Linked DNA regions of Homo sapiens: region 1 is linked to region 2. Evidence: promoter capture Hi-C in 16 types of primary human blood cells and fetal thymus (Javierre and others, 2016). All regions are on one chromosome and are shown on one strand. The core of a region is centred on a gene start or on the middle of the fragment in contact, and the rest is flanking DNA. Distances in the headings are between cores, read along the strand shown. Region 1 holds the start of APBA3 (amyloid beta precursor protein binding family A member 3). Region 2 holds the start of SH3GL1 (SH3 domain containing GRB2 like 1, endophilin A2).

Region 1 (5,284 bases), core at 1-2,500, 640 kb before region 2:
TGACTCTACCGACTGGTCAGAGGCAGTTCCCCAAGACCCCAGACCCAAGACCCCAGTCCCATGACCTCAACCCCCAATACCTCCATCCAGAACTTTAGACCCAGGACCCTGGACTTAATACCAGAGACCCAAGACGCCATAAGGCGGACCCCAGTCTCCAAACCTCCAATGCTACCCCAAGATCGACTCCAGACTCAGACCCCGACTTCAGGACCCAGCCCCAAGCCCAGACCCTAGTCCCCCCTCAGACCGAAGACCTCAAGCGCCGACTCAGACTGCGCTCTGCACCTCGAGGACACTCACTTCCCAAATCGAGGCCGCCTCAGCCCCGCGCAGCCTCCAGGACCCCGCTCCCCACGGACGGCCCCGACGTAGCCCGGGCCGCGTCCCCAGAAGGCGCAGCTCGGGGATTCCCGGTCCCGGCGCCCGCTCCTCTATCCGCGCAGAGCCCTGGCCCATTGAGCATGCGCGGCCTCGCGAGGCCTGCTGGGAAATGTAGTTCTCCCACCCAGCCTCGCCACGCGGGGGCGCTGGGACAACTGCAGATGTTGGAGGGGAGTTCGAATCCCAGGCTTCCCGGCCCGCAGACTGCCCCGGCTGGCCCCAGGACCTGTTTGTTCTCCTGCAAAATAGGGTTAATAATCACTGCCTGGCTCTGGGGGCTGTGTTCATTATTCCAAAGGATGGCAGATGGGGAGAAGTGGGGTTGGGAAATATTAAAGAAGTGTGAGAGGTGGTTTCCTTGGGACCTTGAGGCACCGGAAGCGTCGTGGAGACCCTGTTAAAGACGGACTTTCGGTTTGGCTCACAGTAGGGAGACACATAGGTGCACCATGGATTTGGGGTCGGCCTGGGAACTTTACCTCCCTGAGAACTCAGTTTCCTCATTATAAGCTGGGGAAAAAATAGTACCTACCTCTCAATTGTGAGGATTAAATTAGATCAAGCGGGTTAAGGATTTAGCAGTAGTAGAGCTGGAAAAGAATATATAAAATATATATTATTAATTTATATATTATATATAAAACATACTATATATTATATGTATTATATATGTTATATATAATTTTAAAAATATAATGTTATAAAAATTAACAGTGATTAGACTCCAGCCCTACTGGAGTATATTAGACTCATTGTTAATCTTCTTTTTTTAACTTTAAAGCTTTGAATAATTACTCATTGGATGGAATCAGGAACATATAAAGTGTGATATTTTTAGTAAATGTTATGTAATTGAAGAAGGGCAAGAAGTCAATGAAATATCCCTTGAACGCCTCCTCCTATAGTAACTGTGTATGTCTACAAAAGTCTGAAGAAATCACCATAGATTATGAAAGCTTGGGAGACCGCATTTCCCAGACACCTCCACGGGGCCTACACTTCCACGGGGCCTACAACTCCCAAACACCCTTGGGCCACTGACGTCTTCCGGAAACGTGCACTTGCAAGCTGCCCGCAATACGTCATGGCGACCAAACGCCTTTTCGGGGCTACCCGGACGTGGGCCGGCTGGGGGGCCTGGGAGCTCCTAAACCCCGCCACTTCCGGAAGACTCCTGGCCCGGGATTATGCCAAGAAACCAGGTGAGCTGGGTTAAGAGGAACCAAATGGGGACGGTGGGTGCACTGAGGAATTGACAGTGCGCAGGCGGTGGTTGGGGAGGTGGTGCTAGAACTGATGCGCAAGCGCAGAGAGGCGGATGCCAGGCTGTATGCGCAGGCGCAGTTTGAGGGACCCAGCGCCGCTTGGAGCTCGGGCGTCTGGCTCGGAGATACTGTAGCGATTGGACCCAGGGCGCAGGCGCCAGCTTGGGGCGGAGCGGCCTGGGAGGAGGATGTGGTTACGTGGAGACCACGCGTTTCACTGCGCAGGCGCGGGTTGGAAAGGATTTGAAGGGAGTCTGGGGAGGTCATGAACTTGGGTTCCAGTTCTGTTTCTCTGCCTGCCTCCAAATCGCTGGGTAACCTTGGCCAAGACGTTACCAAACATTCAAAGAAATTATGGAGCCCGTTTAATTGGCCACTTCAGCAAGAACAAAACAAGGTTATTAAGGTTTAGCTGGATACAGCCTTGCCTGATCTCCTTTGTTGAAAGGGGGAAATTGTCCAATGTTCGGCCTTAAAGACAGACACATAGCAGACAAAATATAACTTGAATGACTTGGTCATTCCAAGCATCGGTGTTACTTAATGCTATGTCCAAATCCCACTTAAAGTTACTTAATGCTGTGTCCAAATCCCACTTAAAGTGATTTCGAGGCCAGGCATGATGGCTCACACCTTTATTCCCGGCACTTTGGGAAGCCAAGGAGGGAGGATCGATTGCTTGAACCCAGGAGTTCGAGACCAGCCTGGGCAACATAGCAGGACCCTGTTTGTATAAAAAAAAAAAAAAATTGCCTGGCGCGGTAGCTCACGCCTGTAATCCCAGCACTTTGGGAGGCTGATGCAGGTGGATCACAAGGTCAGGAATTCAAGATCAGCCTGACCAACATGGTGAAACCCTAGCTCTACTAAAAATACAAAAATTAGTGGGGCATGGTGGCACATGTCTGTAATCCCAGCTACTCAGGAGGCTGAGGCAGGAGAACTGCTTGAACCCAGGAGGCGGAGGTTGCAGTGAGCCGAGATCACGCCACTGCACTCCAGCCTGGGCGACACAGTGAGACTCTGTCTCAAAATAAATAAATAAATAAATAAAAATAAAAATAAGCGGGGCATGGTGGCTCACAACTGTGATCTCAGCTACTTGGGAGGCTGAGGCAGAAGGATCACTTGAGCCTGGGAGTTTGAGGCTGCAGTGAGCCATGATTGTGCCCCTGCCCTCCAGCCTGGGCTTTTATTTTTTATTTTTTTATTTTCTTCAGACGGAGTCTCGCTCTGTCGCCCAGGCTGGAGTGTGCAGTGGCGCAATCTTGGCTCACTGCAAGCTCCGCCTCCTGGGTTCACGCCATTCTCCTGCCTCAGCCTCCCAAGTAGCTGGGACCACAGGTGCCCACCACCATGCCCGGCTAATGTTTTTGTATTTTTAGTAGAGATGGAATTTCACCATGTTAGCCAGGATGGTCTCAACCTCCTGACCTCGTGATCCGCCCACCTTGGCCTCCCAAAGAGCTGGGATTACAGGCGTGAGCCGCCGCGCCCGGCCGGGCTGTCTTTATTTTTTAATTTTTTAGATTTTTTATTTTTTTGAGATGGAATCTTGCTCTGTAACCTAGGCTGGAGTGCAGCGATGCGATCTCAGCTCACTGCAACCTCCGCCTCCCGGGTTCAAGTGATTCTCCTGCCTCAGCCTCCCGAGTAGCTGGGATCACAGGCATATGCCACCATGCCCAGCTAATTTTTTTTTTTGTATTTTTAGTAGAGACAAGTTTTCACCATGTTGGCCAGGCTGGTCTTAAACTCACCTGACCTCAGGTGATCTTCCCACCTCGGCCTCCCAGAGTGCTGGGATTACAGGCATGAGCCACTATGCCTGGCTGAGACCCTGTCTTTAAAAAAAAGTTTTGAGTGGCCGGGCGCGGTGGCTCACGCCTGTAATCCCAACACTTTGGGAGGCCAAGGTGGGCAGATCACGAGGTCAGGAGATCGAGACCATCCTGGCTAACACGGTGAAACCCCGTCTCTACTAAAAATACAAAAAATTAGCTGGGCGTGGTGGTGGGCGCCTGTAGTCCCAGCTACTTGGGAGGCTGAGGCAGGAGAATGGCTTGAACCCGGGAGGCGGAGCTTGCAGTGAGCTGAGACTGCGCCACTGCACTCCACCTGGGCAACAGAGCGAGACTCCGTCTCAAAAAAAAAAAAAAAGAAAGTTTTGAGTGTAGCAGAGTCCAGCCAGGGGCAGAGGCCACCTGAGACAGGGTTCTGTGAGAGAAGTTTGGCTTCCAGAGGAGGGGCTGGGCTGAAATGACTCTCCCTCTCGTCTCCCCAGTTATGAAGGGGGCCAAATCGGGAAAAGGTGCAGTGACCAGCGAGGCCCTCAAGGACCCCGACGTATGCACAGATCCTGTCCAGCTCACCACATATGCCATGGGCGTCAACATCTACAAGGAAGGGCAGGATGTACCCCTGAAACCGGATGCTGAGTACCCTGAATGGTGAGTAGGCCAGGCTGTGTCATCCTGCAATGACTATTCCTTCCTCCGCCCCAGGAGGACCCCTTCCCGGAGAGGCGGATCGCCACTCCAGCCGGAGCCTAATAGTCACACCTACCCATCCTGGCTTTAGGGCAGGGGGCTTCAGGGCTCTGCCCATCTGTAATGGGGTGATGGGACCCATCCCTCCCTCAGAGGGCTGTGAGGAATTCATGAGATTAGAACACATGTCAAGTACCTAAAACAATGCTTTATCTTAAGCAAATACTTAAAAAAAATTTTTTTTCAGGCTGGGCGCCGTGGCTCACACCTGTAATCCCAGCACTTTGGGAGGCAAGGCGTTTGGATCACCTGAGGTCAGGAGTTCGAGACCAGCCTGGCCAACATGGTGAAACCTCGTCTCTACTAAAAATATAAAAATTAGCCGGGTGTGGTGGCACATTCCTGTAGTCCCAGTTACTTGGGAGGCTGAGGCACGAGAATTGCTTGAGCCTGGGAGGCAGAGGTTGCAGTGAGCTGAGATCACGCCATTGTACTCCAGCCTGGGCAACAGAGTGAGACTTGGTCTCAAAAAAAAAAAAAAAAATTTTTTTTTTTCTTCTATATGGAGTCTTGCTCTGTCACCCAGTGTGGAATGCAGTCATGTGGTCTTGGCTCACTGCAACCTCTGCCTCCTGGGTTCAAGCGGTTCTCCTGCCTCAGCCTTCAGAGTAGCTGGGATTACAGGCATGCGCCACCATGCCTGGCTAATTTTTTTTTTTTTTTGAGATGGAGTTTTGCTCTTGTCGCCCAGGCTGGAGTGCAGTGGTGTGATCTTGGCTCACTGCAACCTCCACCTCCCAGTGTTCCAATGATTCTCCTGCCTCAGCCTCCCGAGTAGCTGGGATTACAGGTGCCCGCCGTCACACCCAGCTAATTTTTGTATTTTTAGTAGAGACAGGGTTTCACCATGTTTGCCAGGCTAGTCTCGAACTCCTGATAACCTCGTGATCCGCCTGCCCTGGCCTCCCAAAGTGCTGGGATTACAGGCGTGAGCCACCACGCCTGGCCTAATTTTGTATTTTTAGTAGAGACAGGGTTTCTCCATGTTGGCCAGGCTGGTCTTGAACTCCTGACCTCAGGTGATCCGCCCACCTCGGCCTCCCAAAGTGCTGGGAGTACAGGCGTGAGCCGCCGCACCCGTCCTGC
Region 2 (5,198 bases), core at 2,531-5,030:
TGTCCAGCAATATCGTCTACCTACTAGTAGCCAGCAGCACCGCACCAAGCTGTGACAACCAAAAAGGTCCCAGACATTGTCAATGTCCCCTGGAGGACAGAACTGGCCCTGTTTTACAGGAAGATAAATGTCCCCTAATCCTTTTGTGTAAAAGGGGGAATGTTTTTTACCCTTAGACCGGATAAGCAAGACCAGCTGAGACCTACTGGTATAAAGCATACTGCCTGCTCACATGGTGAGAACTCAATAAATGTTTGTATCACTACGTAATGAGAGATCCCGAGAGATGTCACTTTCCAACAGGCACAGCAGAGGGTGAAAGAGTTGTTATTAGACTAAAAACAAAAAAAGAGACACAAATAGTCGGATACGTCCAGATAACAGCTGAGATGTCAGAGGGAACCATGGCAATGATCACAGAAGAGCATGGAACGCAGCCAGGGTGACTTCTAAGAGCACGACTCAGGACAGAATTGACCAGGAGGCCAAGACGACAGCCCCGAGGGTGGGCTGTGGCCATTGTGCTTTGGGACTAGGCCTCGGGATGTGGAAATAGGCAATCCTAAGCCCAGCTAACACCACACTGTCCTTTCCAGGCTTCAAGGCGCCATTCACAGATCTGAACGCAGGTCATCCTGCTTCCCTTGAGAGAGACAAAGTCCTGGTGGCCGGCACAAGAGGCCTGGTTCATTCCTCTAAAGAGGGTGTCAGCTCAGGACAATATGGGCACAGGCCCTGATCGCTGGGAGTGGGGGTGGTGGCTTCCAGAGACCTGTCTATAGCAGGGAACAAAGTGGCCCAGGAATTCCTCCAAGACCTCTGAGGACATCTTTCCTGCTAGGGAGCAGTACTCTATGGTGCTCTAACCAAGCAGGTGAAGGTCTGACGCCTGCTGGGCAAGGTCTAACCCAGGGCCAGGCCATCTGATTTCAAAGTGCTGGGGCAAGGGGGTGGGACTGTTCTCAGTGACAACTCTAAAATTCGTCTGGATTAAATCTTTCTCCAGGGTTTAACCATCATCTGGGGTGTAGAGATAGACCCTAAGTATCTATATCCCTAAACAACCACTAGGGTTGTTACTTTTTTTATTTATTTTTTGAGACAGGGTCTCACTTTGCTGCCCAGGCTGAAGTGCAGTGGCACGATCATAGTTCACTGCAGCCTTGAACTGCTGGGCTCAAGTGGTCCTCCTGCCTCAGCCTCCCAAGTAGCTGGGACTGCAGGTGCACATCACCACACCTGGCTAACTTTTTCATATTTTGTAGAGATGGGATCTCCCTATATCGCCCAGGCTGGTCTTGAACTCCTGAACTCAAGGGAACCCCTGCCTCAGCCTTCAAAGTGCTGGGATTACAGGCATGAGCCACAGCACCTGGCAGGGTCCTTACTTTTTTCTTTCCAGGGGCAAAGGTACCTGCTGGGTGTTACTGGGGACTCGTTTCTCTTTGCTCCCACTGGGCATCTCCGAACTGTGGGCAGAGAACCCTGTTTGCCACCTTGGCCCAAGCATTTGCTAAGATCATTGCTCATTCCTCGGTGGACTCTATCTACACAAATTCCACACAACCTCACCCTGCAGTACACGGACCAATAGGATTCAACAATCTGAGGCTTCTTGTCTTTTTTTTTTTTTCAAGACGGAGTCTCGCTCTGTCACCCAGGCTGGAGTGCAGTGGTGCAATCTCGGCTCACTGCAACCTCTGCCTGCCGGATTCAAGAGATTCTCCTGTCTCACCCTCCTTAGTAGCTGGGGTTACAGGCAAAAATACAAAATTTTTGTATTGTTAGTAGAGATGGGGTTTTGCCATGTTGCCCAGGCTGCTCTCAAACTCCTGGCTTCAAGTGATCCGCCCGCCTCGGCCTCCCAAACTGCTGGGATTCCAGGCATGAGCCACCGCGCCCGGCCAAATTTGAGGCTTCTTGCATTCGAAATTGCAAAGTGAAAATTTTAAATGTGCCCAGTTTTCTGGAGAGTGGATCCACAGCTTTCACCAGATTCATGAGCAGTGGGCCCTGGAGTTTCCAAAAAAAACCCTTTATCTGTCCATATCAAATGCACTTAGGCTGGGATGCAGCATTCTACTTCTGGGAATTCATCCTATAAAACTAATCCCACTGGTGAGCAAAGATATTCACTGGCTATTTATTGTAGTAATGGTAACAGAAAATTCCGGTAAACAATAGAGATATCTATCAACTGACAACTGGTTAAATAAATTATGGTATATGTCATGGAATGAAATACAATGTACCCATTAAAAAGAGCCAAGTAGGCCAGGCAGGTGGCTTACGTCGATAATCCCAGCATGTTGGGAAGCCGAAGCAGGCGGATTACTTGAGGCCAGGAGTTCGAGACCACCCTGGGGCACATGGAGAAACCCTGTCTCTGCTAAAATTACAAAAAGTAGCCGGGCGTGGTGGCGCATGCCTGTAGTCCCAGCTACTGGGGAGGCTGAGGCAGGAGAATTGCTTGAACACAGGAGGCGGAGCTTGCAGTGAGCCGAGATTGCACCACTGCCCTCCAGCTGGGGCGACAGAGCATGACTCCCTCTCAAAAAAAAAAAAAAAAAAAAAAATCCAAGAAGTGTGGAGTATGGTCTAGAGCAGTAGTCCTGGGGGACAGGAAAGGAAGGGAGGAAGGAAAGAAGAGAAGGGAGGGAGGGAGAGAGGCAAGGAGGGAGGGAGGAAGGAAGGAAAGAAGGAAGGAAGGAACGAAGGGAGGGAAGGAGGACTGATTCTAAGGGGACACACGGTGATGTCTCAAGATATTTTTGGTTGTCACGACTTGGGGGTGCTCCTGGCCCGGAGTGGGTGGAGGCCAGGGGCGCTGCTCAGCACCCCGCAGTGCCCAGGACGGCCCCACCACGGAGAACAATCCAGCCCCAGATGTCAACAGTGCCGACGGAGGGGGAGAAATCCCGCTCCAGTGTGATCTCCAAGCAATGAAAAACACAGCACACAGGATTCTGTGGCATATGCTATCACAGGGTACGTGTTTTTAAAGGAAAGGCACACACGTATCTTAGGAAAGGGACATACGGAGTCGATGACAGTCGCTTGTCTCTGGGGAGAAGGGCTGGCTGCCCGAGGAGCAGAGAGGGGAAACTGACTTCTTCCTCTACCTTTTCAACTTTGTACCTTGCCCATCCAGAGGATTTTGAACGTAACTGCTCTAGACGCAACTTTTCCCTGGCTCTGGGTTATCTGGCAAGAGTCCTGTGTCGACAGCCTCGGGACTCCTCTCTTCCCCTTCTCTCCCCGCACCCCGCCTTTGCAGCGGAGAGAAGGAGGGGAGAGGTCCGCGTCCCTGGGCAGCCCAGGGTGCCTCTCCCCTCCTCCCAGGGGCTCTGTCCCCGCTTCTGGAGCCCGCATGGCGGGCAGGGCCTGGGCCACCTCGTCGCCCCCGTCCGTCCCTTGGTCTTCCCACCTGGCAGGGGACACGCGCCAACGTCCCCACCTCGGTCCCCCCGGCCCCCTCCCGGGCCAGGTCGGGCCTGGCTCCCTCATCCGGGCAGCCCGGGGCCCGGTACTCGGCTCCCGCCTGGGCCTGCGCTCACCTGGCTCGCCTTGTAGAACTGCTTCTTCAGCCCCGCCACCGACATGCTGCCGCCCGCCGCCGAGCCTCCCGCCCGGACCGCGCCAGCGACAGGCTCCCGGGCGCCGCCGACCCTCTGCGCGCCTCAGCAGTCCCCGTCGGCGCCGCCTCCGCCACCCGCTTGCCAGCTCCGCGCCCGCCCCGGCGCCGCCTCAGCCGCTCGCGCGCCCGCGCGGCCAGGATATTACATGGCAACCGCACGCTTCCGGTGCCGGCCCCCGCGCGCGCCCCCGGCCCCCGCGCGCGCCCCCGGCCCCGTCTGCGCACGCGCGCCCTCTGCCGGCTGAAGAGCGCACGTGCACATTGTCTACCGCGGGAGAGGCCGCCTCTGTCAGTGAGTTGAGCGGGGCGAGCCTAGAGGGGCCGTAGCAGTTGCAGCGCCCCCTGGAGTCGTGGAGGTGACCCTAACGTCTTGGAAAACGCGCTTAGTTTAAACCTGGCCAGGGAGGTTGGGAAGTAGAAGGGGCCCCTGCTTACGATTCTTCAGATTCCTGTTTACTCATCTTAGCTAAATCCAGTTCGTCTAAGTGTTCAGCCCCCTCCCATTTTTATTTATTTATTTATTTTTTTTTTGAGACGGAGTCTTGCTTTGTCTCCCAGGCTGGAGTGCAGTGGCGTGATCTCGGCTCACTGCAACCTCCGCCTCCCGGGTTCAAGCGATTCTCCTGCCTCAGCCTCCCAAGTAGCTGAGATTACAGGCGCGCACCACCATGCTAGGCTAATTTTTGTATTTTTAGTAGAGACAGTGTTTCGCCATGTTGGCCAGGCTGGTCTCGAACTCCTGACCTCAGGTGATCCAACCCCCAACCCCCCCACCAAATCCAGCCTCCCAAAGTACTGGTCTCACAGGTATGAGCCACCGTGCCCGGCCACCTCTCTTCCTCTCTCTCTCTGTCCTGTGTTCATCCATTCAGTTGCCCACGTGACACATCTAGACATCTAGGTCTGTCTTCATGCCTTGACCATACTTTCCACCAGTCCTCCCCTCCAATTCTTCCTTGTCATGGCAGCCAGAAAGATGCTTCTAGAATGCAATTCAGGGCCAGGGGCGGTGGCTCACGCCTGTAATCCCAGCACTTTGGGAGGCCTAGGTGGGCGGATCACGAGGTCAGGAGATTGAGACCATCCTGGCTAACACGGTGAAACCCTGTCTCTACTAAAAAATAGAAAAAATTAGCCGGACGTGGTGGCGGGCGCCTGTGGTCCCAGCTACTAGGGACTCCGTCTCAAGAAAAAAGAAAGAAAGAAAGGAAGGAAGGAAGGAAGGAAGGAAGGAAGGAAGGAAGAAAGAAAGAAAGAAAACCTGTTTCTACACTCACAGGCTGACACTGAAGTTCTCTGTTTTGTGTGAGGCTTTTAATCTGCTTGATCTACACAGTTCAATCAAATATTTATACATTCACTCAAACATTTATTGACCTGGTAAATATGATCAGTTACTAACAGGTCCTGGGGTTCCAGTGAGGAATGAGTCCTACCCTCGCCAGAACTAATGACAAAAGGCAGAAATTAATTCATTAGTCAAATAACAAACTAATAAATAGACACAGCTGTAATTGCTTTAAGGAAAAGAACAGTGTTGTAGGCACTTGATATTGTCAGG

What was found. The method cuts DNA at HindIII sites, captures the fragments that hold promoters and counts their contacts. A CHiCAGO score of 5 or more calls a contact.
Region 1: a contact is called between a fragment that was not itself captured here and the fragment with the promoter of SH3GL1 in region 2, in 3 of 17 cell types (total B cells, naive CD8 T cells and naive CD4 T cells). The highest score is 6.5, in total B cells.

The regions. Positions count from the first base shown.
Region 1 is chr19:3,761,233-3,766,516 of GRCh38, forward strand. It overlaps APBA3 (amyloid beta precursor protein binding family A member 3), which reads right to left and starts at 460. Exons shown (of 11, transcript NM_004886.4): 1 at 304-460. It overlaps MRPL54 (mitochondrial ribosomal protein L54), which reads left to right and starts at 1,450. Exons shown (of 3, transcript NM_172251.3): 1 at 1,450-1,586; 2 at 3,934-4,099. The coding sequence starts at 1,469. LOC105372248 (a long non-coding RNA gene) reads right to left here and starts at 1,408. Exons shown (of 3, transcript XR_936268.1): 1 at 1,326-1,408; 2 at 917-974; 3 at 522-622. RefSeq lists a silencer at 345-662 and an enhancer at 1,324-1,813. The HindIII fragment of the contact is 175 bases long and covers 1,164-1,338 here.
Region 2 is chr19:4,396,767-4,401,964 of GRCh38, forward strand. SH3GL1 (SH3 domain containing GRB2 like 1, endophilin A2) reads right to left here and starts at 3,781. Exons shown (of 10, transcript NM_003025.4): 1 at 3,558-3,781. The coding sequence starts at 3,602. RefSeq lists an enhancer at 3,142-3,971 and silencers at 3,260-3,309, 3,370-3,879. The HindIII fragment of the contact is 26,532 bases long and covers 1-5,198 here.